3 separate regions of the Homo sapiens genome follow, and regions 1 and 3 are each linked to region 2. The links are contacts of gene promoters, found by promoter capture Hi-C in blood cells and fetal thymus (Javierre and others, 2016). All regions are on one chromosome and are shown on one strand. The core of a region is centred on a gene start or on the middle of the fragment in contact, and the rest is flanking DNA. Distances in the headings are between cores, read along the strand shown. Region 1 overlaps MAEA (macrophage erythroblast attacher, E3 ubiquitin ligase). Region 2 holds the start of GAK (cyclin G associated kinase). Region 3 overlaps ATP5ME (ATP synthase membrane subunit e).

The links. The method cuts DNA at HindIII sites, captures the fragments that hold promoters and counts their contacts. A CHiCAGO score of 5 or more calls a contact.
Region 1: a contact is called between a fragment that was not itself captured here and the fragment with the promoter of GAK in region 2, in 2 of 17 cell types (monocytes and M2 macrophages). The highest score is 6.2, in monocytes.
Region 3: a fragment that was not itself captured here is called in contact with the fragment with the promoter of GAK in region 2 in 3 of 17 cell types (fetal thymus, naive CD4 T cells and total CD8 T cells); the score reaches 8.7 in fetal thymus.

Annotation. Positions count from the first base shown.
Region 1 is chr4:1,294,144-1,296,843 of GRCh38, forward strand. The region is part of intron 1 of MAEA (macrophage erythroblast attacher, E3 ubiquitin ligase); the gene reads left to right. Among named protein-coding and RNA genes, the nearest start is that of MAEA, 5.6 kb to the left of the region's middle. RefSeq lists an enhancer at 675-1,638. The HindIII fragment of the contact is 8,664 bases long and covers 1-2,700 here.
Region 2 is chr4:931,038-933,900 of GRCh38, forward strand. It overlaps GAK (cyclin G associated kinase), which reads right to left and starts at 1,279. Exons shown (of 28, transcript NM_005255.4): 1 at 1,006-1,279. The coding sequence starts at 1,150. TMEM175 (transmembrane protein 175) reads left to right here and starts at 1,423. Exons shown (of 11, transcript NM_032326.4): 1 at 1,423-1,503. RefSeq lists a silencer at 1,065-1,384 and an enhancer at 1,545-1,864. The HindIII fragment of the contact is 2,323 bases long and covers 1-1,709 here.
Region 3 is chr4:670,671-673,370 of GRCh38, forward strand. ATP5ME (ATP synthase membrane subunit e) reads right to left here. Exons shown (of 4, transcript NM_007100.4): 3 at 2,633-2,700; 4 at 1,766-1,849. The coding sequence ends at 1,830. It overlaps PDE6B (phosphodiesterase 6B), which reads left to right. Exons shown (of 22, transcript NM_000283.4): 22 at 1-112. Among named protein-coding and RNA genes, the nearest start is that of ATP5ME, 2.3 kb to the right of the region's middle. The HindIII fragment of the contact is 765 bases long and covers 1,018-1,782 here.

The DNA.
Region 1 (2,700 bases), core at 71-2,570, 360 kb after region 2:
CCCGGTCTCTAGAGCACAGTGGAAATTCCTTCTGCCCAGAAGAGCCATGGTCTGCCCTTTGTGGCTCCCAGCTCCACTCCCCTCGCCTCTCCCACCGTTTGCTGGTGGTTTGGCCCTGGGCTGGCTTCCGCGGCCTCCGCGCTGGCACAGGTCTTCCCTCCCAGGCCTGGGCCTTTCCAGCTGGTTGGGCAAGGCTGAGATAAGGATGTAGACTTGAATTCACTGCTAGCTGGGGGGTTGGTTTTGTTTTTGTTTTTTTAAGTATTATTTTTTTAACACATTTCAAGTCAAGAAAGTGCTTTTTAATGCCTGATTCACCGTAATGGCTGGGCTAGGTTGGAGGCAGTACTGACGTGAGGCCTGGAGCGGCCCTGGGACCTAAGCAAGGCACCGCCGCCGGGCTGCAGAGCAGGGCTGCAGGTGCACTTAGCTTCTCCCATACCCCCCTCCGCAGCAGTGGTCTGAGAGCCTCCATCGGCCAGGTACGGTCAGGCCCTGCACAGTCAGGCCCTGGGCTAGCATGATGGGGAGACAAGTGAGGCCCCTGTCTACGCTCCGGTGGGAGGGAGGCATCAGCACAAGCACACACAGACATCTCAGATCCTTTAAAGACGCTGATGAGGTTGAGGTGATGTTGGACAGTGGCAGGGGACGGGGGTGGGGCCGGGGGCAGGGGCAGGGGCAGGGGCGGGGGTGGGGATGAGCTTCCTCCAGTGAATGCGATATTGTGAGCTGGTTGGCGGAGCTAAGTTTTGGGGTGAGGCTCTGTGGACCGTGTTGAAGTCCTGGCCGGCTCTCACCCCAGTAGGCACACAGGCACACAGCACCATTGGGGTGATGTGGCTGGGGGTGTCCCAGAGCTGTGCAGGGAGGGTCTCACAGTGAGACTGGGTGCTGGGCAGTGACTCGGTCTGTGGGTACAGGGGTCAGCAGAATGGGAAGCAAGCCCAAGGAGACACATTGGCACCAGAATGAAGACAAGGCCGGCCGGTGCCTGTAGCATGTGACTGCCCCGTCTGCAGAGAGGCTGTGCTGCGAGCCCCACCCTCTGGGGGCTTCAGGCCGAGTGGGGATGTCTGGGTGCTGACCCAGGCATCGCAAAGCACACTTCCTGCCGGGGTAACTGCTGATGATTTTTAGGTCTGTTATTTCAGAATCGTTATAGCTAGGGGCCATTATTTTGAAAACCTGAACAAAAAGAATTATTCACTGTGTTAATACCACATTTAGTGACTGTTGAGCTGAATGTGGCTGAGCAGAAGAAAGCACCTGCTGTGCTGATGGCTGACTGTGGACCCGGACCGGGACCCTGAGTGCTGCCCCACTCGAGGGAGGGGCCCAGAGCAGCCTCCTTCCTCTCCTCCCAGGCGAGCCTTTCATACCTGTCCTTCTCTCAGACTTTCCCTCCTACTTCATGCTCGCCCATGCCTGTCACGCAGACCCTGCCTGACCTGCACCTGCTCCCACACCCGTGGTGGATGAGCCCCATCACCCGTACCTGTACCCCCCTCACCCGCTCCTGTACCCCCTCACCCGCTCCTATACCCCCTCACCCACACCTGTACCCCCCTCACCCGCTCCTGTACCCCCTCACCCGCGCCTGTGCCCCCTCACCCGTGCCTCTGCCCCCCTCACCCGCGCCTGTGCCCCCCTCCCCAGCGCCTGTGCCCCCTCACCCACGCCTGTGCCCTCCTCACCCATGCCGGTGCCCACCACACCTGCGCCTTTGCCCCTTCACCTGTGTCTGCACCGCCCTCACCTGTGCTGCCTTCACCTGCACCCCCTCACCCACACCTGTGCCACCCTCGCCCGCACCTGTGCCCCCCTCACCCACGTCTGCACTGCCCTCACCTGTGCTGCCCTCACCTGTGCCCCCCACCTGTGCCTGTGCCCCCCTCACCTGCTCCTCCCTCACCTGCTCCTCCCTCACCTGCTCCTGCACCACCTTCACGTGCGCCCCCCACCTACATCTGCACCTCACCTATGCTACCCTCACCTGTGCCCCCCCACCCGCACCTGTGCCCCCCTCACCCACGTCTGCACTGCCCTCACCTGTGCTGCCCTCACCTGTGCCCCCCACCTGTGCCTGTGCCCCCCTCACCTGCTCCTCCCTCACCTGCTCCTCCCTCACCTGCTCCTGCACCACCTTCACGTGCGCCCCCCACCTACATCTGCACCTCACCTATGCTACCCTCACCTGTGCCCCCCCACCCGCACCTGTGCCCCCCTCACCTGTGCCTGTGCAGCCGTCACCCATGCCATTCCTCACCTGTACCCCTCACCCATGCCTGTGCCGTTCCTCACCCGTGCCTGTGCCCCCCTCACCCGTGCCTGTGCCTCCCTCACTTGCGCTGTGCCCCCCTCACCTGTGCTGTGCCCTTTGCCTTGTGGCTGCTCCTGCACTTGGTTCTCTCTCTGTTGGTCGGTTTTCCCATTGGCTGTGCAGCTCCCTGGTGTGCACGTGGCTCTGAGTCTTCCTCTCGTGAAAACCCCTTCCTTGCCCCCGTCCTCCTCCAGCTACTACTCCCTGTCTCTGCCCCTTCATGTCTCTCTTCCTGTTTTACCTAAATCAGATTTTTGCCCCCCAACACTCCACCCAGATGTTCCTCTTGAGGACAGGATGATGCTCCTGAAAGCGGTCAGTCCACAGCGGACCCCACTGCCTCGAGACGCTCCCATCACTCGGCTCCCGTGACACCA
Region 2 (2,863 bases), core at 29-2,528:
AGTCAACTGTGTTTAGCCCATAAACTTCACAGCCAGTGAAATATGACACACCTCCAGGCACCACTGGACAAAAAATGTAAGGAAAATCCACAAGAGAGAATGGGACCCACTGGCACTGGTGATCGATTCCGTGTGAACGGAGAGGACATCCAGGGAGCTAGAAATAGCATGCAGAGACAAAACTGACTCAAGACTGACTCAAGAGGACTTAAGCCGAGTGACCTGTCCACTCTGCAAGTTCTATATAGGTCACAACCACTGGCTCTGCTTCCTGTACTACACACGGAATCACACGAGTAGATGTTCACCGGGAAGAGAAACACTGAGGTGTTGAAAGACGAAGGGGGATCACGAGACACAGCCCAGTCTACCCTCGGCCAACCCCCCCACCCCCCAGGCTACAACCGCAACTACCTGCAACACGTGTGCACCCACCAACTCTCAAGTTCCCTGGACTGTAGAAGAACCAGCCCTAACCTCCAAAGTCCAGTCCTGTCCCTGCCTGCTCAATAACCCCAGATGTCCGGCAAAAGGCCAAGGCTTAAACCCACCTCCTGCACCGCTCACCTCCTGACTCCAGCTGTCGGCCTTCTAGGCACCGTCCCTCAGTCTCCGCTGTGGGTCCCCACCCAAGCTCCCTGCCTGCCACCATCCCCCACCTCACCGTAACATCTTCCCCCACCCACCCTGAGGGGGTTCCCCAAGCCCCAGGCCTTGCTCCGACTTGACCCTACTCTTATGACAAGAAAGTACCCCGACCCGGTCCCAGCCTCGCCCTCCGCAATCACCGCCAGCAGGCACTCACCTACGCCCGCGCTATGACCTTCGCCTGGCCCTGACCCACGCCCTCGGCAGAGACCCTCCCCTGGCCGACCCTGACCCACGATCCCGCTGGGACCCTCCCCAGCCCTAACCCACGCCCTTCCACTCCGGGCTGACGCTGCCCCCAGCGTCCCGGAGACAACACTCCGCGGCCGCACCCGCGCTGCCGACCCGGGGCCTCACCTTCGGCCAGGACCCGCCGCACCCGCAGCCGCAGCTCGCCCAGTTCCACCGTCTGCCCCACGAAGTCACTCTGGTCGCGGCCGGAAGCACCGCCCAGGGAGCCTGGACCCGCCAAGAAGTCGAGCGCCGACTGCAGCAGCGACATGGCGGTGGCTGCGCCGCACCCCGCGGCAGCCGGAGTGGTCGGGCTCGGGCTCCCGCTCCCTCGCCGTCCGGGTCAGCTCAGCAACCGCCGGCCCGGAGGTGCACCATCTTCCGCCTCGACGCCGTGACGTAGGCGCCCGTGAGGACGCGTCGCGTCAGGCGGCGACCCGGCCTAGCCCCGTCCCCTCCGCCGCGGCCTCACTTCCTGGCTGCGCGCGCAGGCGCGGAGGTCTGACGGAGACAGCGCGTGCGCGGCGTCGCCGGGCTTGCGATGAACTTCCGGCTGTCAAGCTCCCGGCCGGGCTGACTCAAGCGGAGGCGCGCGGAACAGTCGCCGAGGCGATTCCCGCCCAGGTAGTTCAGCGCCCCAGTCCAGCTCCCGGTACCGTTCCCCACATGGTCTGTTTTGTGGGAGGCTCCTTCTCAGGTGTCTCCGGTTTAAGCGCTTCGCCATCCTCTGGGTGGAGTCAGCCTCCCGTTTGCTGTTAGCGCCGCGTTTGCGAATGGGTTCGCGAATTTTTCTCTCAGTTGGCTAAGGAGCAAGGAGTTAGCGTGCGTTAAGCTTTCAGTAAATACTTGGTTTTCGTCTCATGGAGGTCGGAGTTTCCTGTGACGCTTAGTGAGTAAGGTTGGCAGCCCCCTCCCAGCAGCCAGGCAGGCAGTTTGCAGGGGAAACGCTGCTGCATTGCTCTGTCTTCCGAGGAGAGGGCCAGGGTCTGGCCTGGGGCAGTGACCAGTAGTGGGAGCCGTGGGCTAGAAAAACCTTCGTCCTGGGCAACCACAACACTGCAGAGACTGCCCTGTGACCCTCAAGGTTCGTTCTCACCCTGACATTTTCCAAGGCAAAAGCAAATCCTCATGAACCACTTGGAAGGGTTCGTAATGCCCAACTATTTGGAGATGAAATGGTGACTTTCCTTATAGGATAATAAGGAAATGGCTCACAGACAATGCATTTTTAGTTTTTGGCCCACACAGTATTTGGGGGTTGGGAGTGGGTAGCAGGAGGTGAATTAGTTGCTATCATTTAAAGACTGATGCCAGGCGCGGTGGCTTACACCTGTAATCCCAGTGCTTTGGGAGGCCGAGGCAGGCGGATCACCTGAGGTCAGGAGTTCCAGACCAGCCTGGTCAACATGGTGAAACCCCGTCTCTACTAAAAATACAAAAATTAGCCGAGCGTGGTGGCGGGTGCCTGTAATCCCAGCTACTCGGGAGGCTGAGGCAGGAGAATCGCTTGAACCCGGGAGGCGGGCGCCACTGTACCCTAGCCTGAGACTCCGCCTCAAAAAATAAATAATAATAATAATAATAATTGAAAGGCCTAAATGTTAAAAACCTAGTTTTCCAGCTTCTGTGGAAAAATCAAACCTGTCAATATTGGACCCAAAATGATGTGTGTTACCAATTACCTAGAGTGGTCCCTTGAGGTAAGACACAGTCATTTGCCTGACCAGATGGGCTCATGTATGTTACCTGCCTGGTTCCTATAGTCATTTAAGGTTGCAACCCCTTCAACAGAGTTATTTGTTCTCCAACTCAAAAATGGATTCTAAAGCTCACATCAGCCTCTTAGCCGTCCCAGAAGCTAACATCTGTTATCTTTATCATTAAAAGATAATAGCCTCAGCTCGTTGGAACACTTATCTATGTTATGGAATGAAGTATTGCATGAAGCCAAATGACATCTTTAAAAATATATATAACAAAAATA
Region 3 (2,700 bases), core at 150-2,649, 260 kb before region 2:
CCACACATGTACATATGTGTACACAGGTAGACAGATGGACACAGGCCGTTTCTCATCCAGTTTAGGAAAACACACATGCTCAGGAATTCAGAATAAAATAAACAGAAAACTACTTGCCCATTATCTGTGGTAAAATGATAGCGGAAGCCACACTACATTTGACCCATCAGAAAATTCTGCCAGAGAGGTCAAGGCCATGAGTAAAGCGGCCATCCAACTTCAGTGGTCTGAGCGGAAATGATCTGTAATAAACACCATGTAGAGTGGCTCTGATGGCCCCAGACGGCACCAGGAGGGCAGTGCAGGGCTGGATGCCGAAGCCCGTGCACCCCCATGATTAAATATTGGTGAGCCTGGAGTGAAGGACAGAGGCAAAGAAACGGACTTCCCAGTTGAAATCGGTATTATGTTAAATTCAGGATGTTCAACTCATGATGTGAGCTCCAAGGCATTTGCTCCCAACACTAGATGACGCTTAACTAGATGGGCTCATTGGGGTGGGCGTGGGAGAGCAGCAGACATGCCCAGCACAGCCATGGGGCTGCAGGAAGGGGGTGCTGGGTTTTTTGCTTGAGACAGTCTCACTCTGTCACCCAGCCTGGAGTGGAGTGGTGTGATCTTGGCTCAATGCAACCTCCACCTTCCGGGTTCAAGCAATTCTCCTGCCTCAGCCTCCTGAGTAGCTGGGATTACAGGCACCCATCACCACAACCAGCTAATTTTTGTATTTTTAGTAAAGACAAGGTTTCGCCATGTTGGCCAGGCTGGTCTTGAACTCCTGACCTCAAGTGATCTGCCCACCTTGGCCTCCCAAAGTGCTGGGATTACAGGTGTGAACCACCGTGCCCAGCCTTTTCATCTCACTGGTCAGAGACCCCTGGTATCCAGAGCCTGGGTCTGGGATGAGGGGCTCTTAAGAGGTTCTGAGGGATCCTGCAAACAGCCCCTCTGGACGCCAGGACAGGATGTGAAAGTATCTTGCTCACTCAAAGCTCACCTTAACCAAATGTCCTGAAAAGCTTATAGGCTGCTTCTCCCTTTGGCCTTATATTTGCAAACGAACTCATTTTACAAACTGGGGCTCCAAGCCTAGATTTGCTCAAGGCACATAACTGGGAAGTAGCAAATTCAATCTGTCCATTGCAAACCACCAGGCCAAGGGTTTGGGTTGTTGGCAAGCTCACAGCCAGGAGGGGCGAGAAGCCCAGGAAGCCTGCTGGGGAGGGAAGTGGCTCAGGCACCACAAGACCACCTCCCTGCACAACTCAAACAGCACTCAGGCCCTGTGCTCAGGAGGTCACATCACCAGACTTTTAGTCCCAAGTCTGACCTGGCCACTTCCTGGGATCAAAGGGAGGATTTGTGAAATGGCAGGTTGGGGCGAGGGGTTATTGTGGAGGAGGACCCAGCTTCCCAACTGTAAGGGCGTCAGTCAGTGCCTACCCCTCCCCATCCAGGGGTCTGGGCTGCTGAGAGCAGCAGCCTAGAACTCAGAATCAAGACAACCCCAGTACTCATGAGGCCCCCAGCTGACTGACTCCATTACAGACGGCCTTTGGGGCTCCCCACCTGGATGCCCCAGACAGAACAGGCAGCGCGCATCTGTCCTTCCCACTGTGTTTACATGATGCATTCTGGGTCTGTGAATGGTAATGTGGATTCTTTTGAAACCCCCTCCCTGTCTTCCACCTCACGTGAACTGGGAGGTGGACAGAACTTCAACCTAGGAATTCCACAACCAGCGACAGCAAATGAGGAGCCGGAGTATCACACAACACAGGAAGCTTTATTCATCCGCTGCTGGTCCAAAGAGTGGGTCGCAGGGTCACTCACTTTAATATGCTGTCATCTTGGGCCGGAAGGTTAGAAGAAAAGCACATGTTACCACTCAGGCAACCTAAAAAGACCACTTCAGCTTCCCAGTTATTTTTTTTTTTTTTTTTTTTGTTTTGAGACGGAGTCTCGCTCTGTCACCCAATGGCGCAATCTCAGCTCACTGCAACCTCTGCATCCCAGGTTAAAGCGATTCTCCCACCTCAGCCTTCTGAGTAGCTGGGATTACATGCACCCGCCATCATGCCTGGCTAATTTTTTTTAGACAGAATTTCACTTTGCTGCTCAGGCTGGAGTGCAGTGGCGTGATCTCAGCTCACTGCAACCTCCGCCTCCCGGGTTCAAGCAATTCTCATGCCTCAGCTTTCTGAGTAGCTGGGATTACAGGTGCCTGCCACCATGCCCGGCTGATTTTTTGTATTTTAGTAGAAATGGGGTTTCACCATCTTGCCCAGGCTGGTCTCGAACTCCAGAGCTCAGGCAATCTGCCTGTCTCAGCCTCCCAAAGTGCTAGGATTACAGGCATGAGCCACCGCACCGGGCCATGCCCGGCTAATTTTTGTAGAGACAGGGTTGCACCATGTTGGTCAGGCTGGTCTTGAACTCCTAACCTCAGGTGATCTGCCCGCCTTGGCCTCCCAAAGTGCTGGGATACAGGCATGAGCCACCACGCCTGGCCAGCTTCCCCATTTTTAAACAATCCGCATCTACTTAGCTCTGCTTAAATGTCCTCCTCCATTTTCCTTATCCCTGCACAAACCTGGGAGGGACAATCTATAAGAGCCAGTGTCACTCGTACCTTCTGCCAATTCTCTGGCAATCCGTTTCAGTTCATCCTGCTTCTTCTTCTCTTCTGCTGCTATCCTC